2 separate regions of the Homo sapiens genome follow, and region 1 is linked to region 2. Evidence: promoter capture Hi-C in 16 types of primary human blood cells and fetal thymus (Javierre and others, 2016). All regions are on one chromosome and are shown on one strand. Each heading gives the region's core, a stretch centred on a gene start or on the middle of the fragment in contact. The rest is flanking DNA. Distances are from core to core; before and after follow the strand shown.

Evidence for each region. The method cuts DNA at HindIII sites, captures the fragments that hold promoters and counts their contacts. A CHiCAGO score of 5 or more calls a contact.
Region 1: the fragment with the promoter of ECEL1 here is called in contact with the fragment with the promoter of ALPG in region 2 in 1 of 17 cell types (erythroblasts); the score reaches 5.5 in erythroblasts.

The regions. Positions count from the first base shown.
Region 1 is chr2:232,486,107-232,489,241 of GRCh38, forward strand. ECEL1 (endothelin converting enzyme like 1) reads right to left here and starts at 1,728. Exons shown (of 18, transcript NM_004826.4): 1 at 1,613-1,728; 2 at 1-648. The coding sequence starts at 547. LOC124906124 (a long non-coding RNA gene) reads left to right here and starts at 1,837. Exons shown (of 3, transcript XR_007088123.1): 1 at 1,837-2,853. RefSeq lists an enhancer at 1-382. The HindIII fragment of the contact is 9,213 bases long and covers 1-3,135 here.
Region 2 is chr2:232,405,561-232,408,789 of GRCh38, forward strand. It overlaps ALPG (alkaline phosphatase, germ cell), which reads left to right and starts at 1,284. Exons shown (of 11, transcript NM_031313.3): 1 at 1,284-1,401; 2 at 1,497-1,613; 3 at 1,726-1,841; 4 at 2,034-2,208; 5 at 2,285-2,457; 6 at 2,707-2,841; 7 at 2,941-3,013; 8 at 3,144-3,229. The coding sequence starts at 1,335. RefSeq lists enhancers at 1,348-2,547, 2,910-3,229. The HindIII fragment of the contact is 10,567 bases long and covers 1-3,229 here.

The DNA.
Region 1 (3,135 bases), core at 478-2,977, 81 kb after region 2:
AGGCGCGCACCTTGCGCTGGGCCGCGCCGCCAGGCCCACCCCCGGGCCGCGCCAGCAGGCGCCGTAGGCGCTCCTCGTTTTGCTCGCCGATGGCCGCGATGGTGCCATAGGTGAGCTTGTCGTCGGGGATGGCGTGGCGCCGCAGCCAACCGCCGCAGGCGAACGAGTAGAAGTCCTGGCATGGGTCGATGCTGGCGTCCAGGTTGGCGGCCAGGAAGCGAGCGGCGCGCGCGAAGGCCTTGCGCTCAGGGCAGCCCTCGGGACAGGCGCCGCCGCCGGCCGCGACCGGGCCCAGGTACTTGAGGGCCAGCATAGCCGCCAGAATGGCGCAGAGGCCGGCGGCGAACACCAGCCCCGACAGCAGGCACACCTCGCGCCGGTTCCAGCGCGGCAGCCCGGACCGGGCCCCGGTGGCGCTGCGCGCAGCGCCCAACGGGAAGCCCGGGGGCAGGGAGGCCCCGCGCGCGCCCCCCGCGCCGCAGCGGCTCACGTACTTGACCTCTTGGAACTCATCGTAGTGCGCCGTCAGCGAATACGGGGGCTCCATGGCGCCGAGGCCGCCGCGGTGCAGACCTGGGCCACCTGGGCTACGGGATGCGCGTGGCCGCCGGCCTCCTCGTGGGCCTCCGCATGGCCCTGGGGCCGCAGCTGCGGGAAGGGCGGAAGCAGGCTCAGGAGGCGCCGCAGCCGGATGGGGCTCAGGGTCACCGCGAGGAGGGACACAGGCCTGGGTGCAGAGGCCCCAGCCGCGGGCCTCATTCACTGCGGAAACCAGGGACTATGAGGGTTCGGCGGGGCCACCACCCCCGGGTGCACAGTGGAGTCTTCCCCCCTGTCCCCTCCCTGCACACACTTGAGGGCCGCAGGGTTGGGAGGGCTCTTATTGGAAGCAAGAGGCGCCAGGCAAGGGGCCTGGCACGTAGTGGGCCTTCATTGAAAGGTCGTCCCTCTTCCCCTTCGCCTTTCTCTTCCACGACCTGCCCCAGCCAAGGCCGGGTGGAGTGGGGGAAGAAGCGGAGGCTGGAGTGAGGAGGTGCGGTCAGGGGCGCGTCTATGCGACACTTTCAGCTCTCCGCGCTGGACCCAGACAGACGCTCCGCAAAGCGGCCAAAGAACCAAACTTTGTCCTCGCGGAAGTCCGCGGGATCGACCACGCCAACCCCGCTCCCTGGCTCCTTCTGCTCGGTGGCCCGACGGCCCACTCGCCCCTTCCCTAGGGGCGCGCGCCAACGCCCCAGGGTGGCGGACACACAACCCACCCACTGGACGGCCCTGATGGAGAACCCGAGACGGGTTCCCTCCCCCCACTCCCACCATCTCTGTCCCCGCCCCGAGCCACTCCTGGCTTCAACAGGTTCTCCCCAGAACCCAAACTTGGGCGAAGTTTCACCCCCGGCGGGGAGCGAGCTGGCTGGCGACCCCCGAGCCCCGGCGCCGTGCGGCGCAGTCCGCGGAGCCCGAGAGCCGAGCCCGGGAGCCGCAGCCGCAGCCGCAGCCGGAGCCGCAGCCGAGAGGACGCAGACAAAGCCGGGAGGCTCCGCGCAGTGGCGGCGGCGGCGACGGAAGTGGCCGCGGTGGTGGCCTCAGCGGCAGGGACTCGGGCGCCACTTACCCGGCAGGTGCGCGCCCGAGCCGGCGGTGACCGAGCGGGTCGGGCCCGAGCGGGGGCCTGAGCCGCAGCGCAGCCGAGCGGGCGTCCGGTGTCTCCCAGCGCCCGCCGCCTCCTCTGCCGCCGCGCCGAGCCCGCCGCGCCGCCCGCCTGCCGGCCCGAGGGAGGGGGCGCGCCGGCGGCTCCACCCTCCTCCGCCCGCCCCGCGCGCCCCTCCTTCCTCCTGCATCTCTCGGGCCACCTGGCAGTGGGGCGGCAGCGCGGACGTGGGTCGGCGGCCGCGGAGACAGGCTCCCGGGGGTCGTGCGCGGGCTGCGGTCGGGGACTCCGGGTCCAGCCGCGTTCCGAGACGAGTGAGGGCAGCGAGTACTCCCGTGAAGGGTCCCCTCCGATCCAGTGTCCCCACTCCCAGCCGCCCACCAGCCGGCTGGAAAGGGGCTGGAGCTGGAGATGAGGAGCCGAGGACTCCTCCGAAGGGCTGGGGGCGGTGTCAGTAGTGCCTGTGTCTGCCGGCACAGTCCCTGGCGCAGAGCGCACCTTCACTAACCGGCTTTTTTGTCCTCCTTGGAACCCCTGCCCTGGATGGGCTCTCCACTAGGGCTTCTGGTTGGCCTCGCTCCCTTCACCTAGCCCCTGGTGAAGGGAGCTCAGCGGGGACTCCTGCAAGAAGAGGGCTTGCCGCCCCCTTCCCCATCCTCCCCAGCCTTGGGTGGCCCTGGCACCACGGCTCAGGGAGTCCCTGGCCCAGGTAGGAAGAAAAGGCCAAGAGAAGAATGAGCGAAGTCTCCCTGCTGGAGCCAGGGAAGGCTGGAGCCTGCCCCCTCTGGCCAGCAGCCCTAGGCCTCAGACAGGCCCTGAGCCTCAAGACCCTGGTATGTGGACTGATGGGAGGGCAGGCTGGGTGCAGGGACTCTGAATTTACTCACCGCCTGCCTTCTTCCAGGTAAACTGGCTTTTTAAATGTGGGGCCTCCCCACTGCCTGGAGGCAAAGCCCTCTTCTACCTGCCTGCCTGCCTTGGCCAGACAGCCTGGCCCTAATGGGACACAGAGAACTTGGGGCTCCTTGGAAGACTGATACTGTTTCTGGAGTCTCTGCTTTCTCTGCCCTACCCTGCCTCTGGTGTCTCTAGCAGGAGACCCCACAAAGCACCAGCCCTCCCAGGTCTGCCGGCTCCAGCCCGTAGGATTGGCTTAAACAATGTGTGAGAGCCATGGAGCACCATCTAATAAAAATCACAACAAGGTAGGGACTCTGATAACCTACCCATCATCCTGTTCTCCTCCTCAGGGTCTGTGCATCTGCCCAGCTCCTGAGCCCTGGCCCTGAGTGCCGGCCTCTGCCCCTGTCTTGCCTCTCCCTGCCTCTTCATCTCTCCATCTCTAAGCCCCCACTCCGGATACCCTGCCTCCATCTCTGGCCACCCCAGGGTTGTCCTCTGCCCCATGCATCCTTCTTGGGTCCTATTAATTCTAAAGAGGAAAAATGGAATTACTTATAATGTGGCGATTCCATGAAGGGGGGAGG
Region 2 (3,229 bases), core at 34-2,533:
CACGATTGTGGCACATGTCACACACCCTTGAGCACTCTGGTTCCTCTCCAAATCCATTTCTCCTGAATGTGGGCCCAGATTGGTGGCTCAAGTCTGGAACCCTAGCAGTGTTGAAGGATCGCCTGAGCCCAGGAGTGCAAGACCAGCACGGGTAACAGAAAGAGATCCTGACTCTACACAAATTTTTGAAAATTAGCTTCACATAATGGAAGATACACGGGAGGCTGATGTGGGAGGATCGCTTGAGCCTAGGAGGTGTGGCGTGAATGCACCACTGCACTCCAACTTGGGTGACAGAGCCAGCCCCTGTCTCAAAAAAATAAATAAATAATAATAATAAAACAGAAAGAAAAAAATGATGGCAAGGTATCTGAACTGCAGAAATACTTTTTAACTCAGCCTGAGGCTATCAAAACATCTGATCCCCATGTGAAAGGCTACAGTTCTGGGCATGCTCAGGGCCCACCGAAAACAGAGTCCGCCCAGGCACCCTCTGCCTGTGCAAGGGAACAGGTGTCACAATCAAGTGCACAAGCTGCTCTGGAAGACCCAGCCCAGGCCTGTCTGGCCGAGGGCACTGGACTCTCCCCCACTGCGTCGTCCAAACATTAGTGCGAGTGCACCCACACAAACACATACACAATCAAACACAACATGTAAGCAATGGGCAGGACTGGCCCGGCCCCACTCAGTGTTGTCACCATTGGCCCCACAGATGCCCACAGCCCTGGAGCTCTGGGCCTAGATTCCTGCCAGCCCCACCTGTCCAGGCCAAGGCCAGATGTTGGAGCAAGGGGGTGCCAGAGCGGCAAAGCCCCCCATGTGCCCCTTTCCCACCGGGCCCAGGCTCCTGGCATCAGAAAGCTGAACCCAGTATCTGGCCCGGGCTGTGTGCTTCCAGCCTCCCCTCCTCTCGACACCAGAACAGAGCCTGGCCCCCAGCTCCCAGGAAATACAGAAAAAAAAAATGGTGGATGAACGAGTGACAGGGTGTCTAGTTCCACACAAGACACAGTGAGCAGGGGTTGGGGGAGGGGCCCCTGGCGGCAGGATGCACACTGCACTATACCCAAAATCCCACCCTTCCCTGGGGGACACCTGGTCCCACCCTAAGCTGCCTTTCTCAGGACCCCAGCCCCAGCCCAGCCCAGCCACACCCTGCCACTCCCTTCAGCCAGTGTGGCTTCAGGTCAAGAGGCTGGGCGGGGTCAAGGTGGTAACAAGGGGAGGGGCCAGGACACAGTTTTCCCTGATTTAAACCCAGGCAGCCTGGAGTGCAGCTCATACTCCATACCTGGGATTTCCGCCTCGCCGCTCTCCGACTGCTTCCAGACATGCAGGGGCCCTGGGTGCTGCTCCTGCTGGGCCTGAGGCTACAGCTCTCCCTGGGCATCATCCCAGGTAATGAGGCTCCCCCAGCTGCCCCTACACACACACACACACACAGGGCACCCCCCAGCCCAGGCTGACCTGATCTTTGCTCTCCCCCTGGCCAGTTGAGGAGGAGAACCCGGACTTCTGGAACCGCCAGGCAGCCGAGGCCCTGGGTGCCGCCAAGAAGCTGCAGCCTGCACAGACAGCCGCCAAGAACCTCATCATCTTCCTGGGTGACGGTGAGTGAGCCAGGCCTTCCAGCCCCGCAGCCCTCACAGCCCCGGCGCCCGGACCCTCAGTGGTTCCAGGACAGCCCTGGGGAGCAAGCCTCACACACTTCTGCTCCTTCAGGGATGGGGGTGTCTACGGTGACAGCTGCCAGGATCCTAAAAGGGCAGAAGAAGGACAAACTGGGGCCTGAGACCTTCCTGGCCATGGACCGCTTCCCGTACGTGGCTCTGTCCAAGGTAAGTGCTGGGCTACCTTAGAGTCCTCCAAGCAGAGAAGGGGAATCCTGGCTATGGAGTGTGGTAGGAGGGAGGGACCCTAAACAGCTGGGGCTCCAATAAGGAGCTGGAGGCAGTTGGAATCCCAGAGGACAGAGATCAGGGTCTTGTTTGTCTGCCCCAGAGAAGAGCTCAGAGTGTCTCTGTCCCCAGACATACAGTGTAGACAAGCATGTGCCAGACAGTGGAGCCACAGCCACGGCCTACCTGTGCGGGGTCAAGGGCAACTTCCAGACCATTGGCTTGAGTGCAGCCGCCCGCTTTAACCAGTGCAACACGACACGCGGCAACGAGGTCATCTCCGTGATGAATCGGGCCAAGAAAGCAGGTGAGCTGGGGCCCGCTGTGGGGTCAGGGCCAGGTGACAGACCTCTATCGCATATCCTGACCTCTATCACCCTCAGGAAAGTCAGTGGGAGTGGTAACCACCACACGGGTGCAGCATGCCTCGCCAGCCGGCGCCTACGCCCACACGGTGAACCGCAACTGGTACTCGGATGCCGACGTGCCTGCCTCGGCCCGCCAGGAGGGGTGCCAGGACATCGCCACGCAGCTCATCTCCAACATGGACATTGATGTGCGACCCCCGGGCCAAGGGCTGGGGCTGGGCAGAGAGTAGCAGGGAGGGGGCACCAGCTCAGACCCAGGCAACCAAAAGCCTTATCTGGGCCAGCAGGGTCTGGAGGTGGGGTTGGGGGCGTAGAAGGCGCAGCCCAGGCTGGGCCATTCCCACAGCCTTGGGGAGGGGAGTCAGGGGCTGTGCATGAGGAGGGGACACGGGGCCAGCCAGGCCCCCAAATCCACCTGCCCCATCCTCTGTTCCCAGGTGATCCTAGGTGGAGGCCGAAAGTACATGTTTCCCATGGGGACCCCAGACCCTGAGTACCCAGATGACTACAGCCAAGGTGGGACCAGGCTGGACGGGAAGAATCTGGTGCAGGAATGGCTGGCGAAGCACCAGGTGATGGGGGCTGGTGGGTGTGCTGGGCACAGCAGGGGGAGGGCAGAGGTGTGGGGCTCGGGGCTGTGGGCTGAGGCCTGGCTCTCTCCCTCCCCGCAGGGTGCCCGGTACGTGTGGAACCGCACTGAGCTCCTGCAGGCTTCCCTGGACCCGTCTGTGACCCATCTCATGGGTAATGACCCCCTTCCTGCCCTGGCATCCCTCAGATGGCCTCAGATGGCACCTTCTGAGCCTGTGTGCACATCCGCCAGCACCCTCCCACCCCCAGCCTGCCAGTCACCACAGGACCCCTTGTCCCACAGGTCTCTTTGAGCCTGGAGACATGAAATACGAGATCCACCGAGACTCCACACTGGACCCCTCCCTGATGGAGATGACAGAGGCTGCC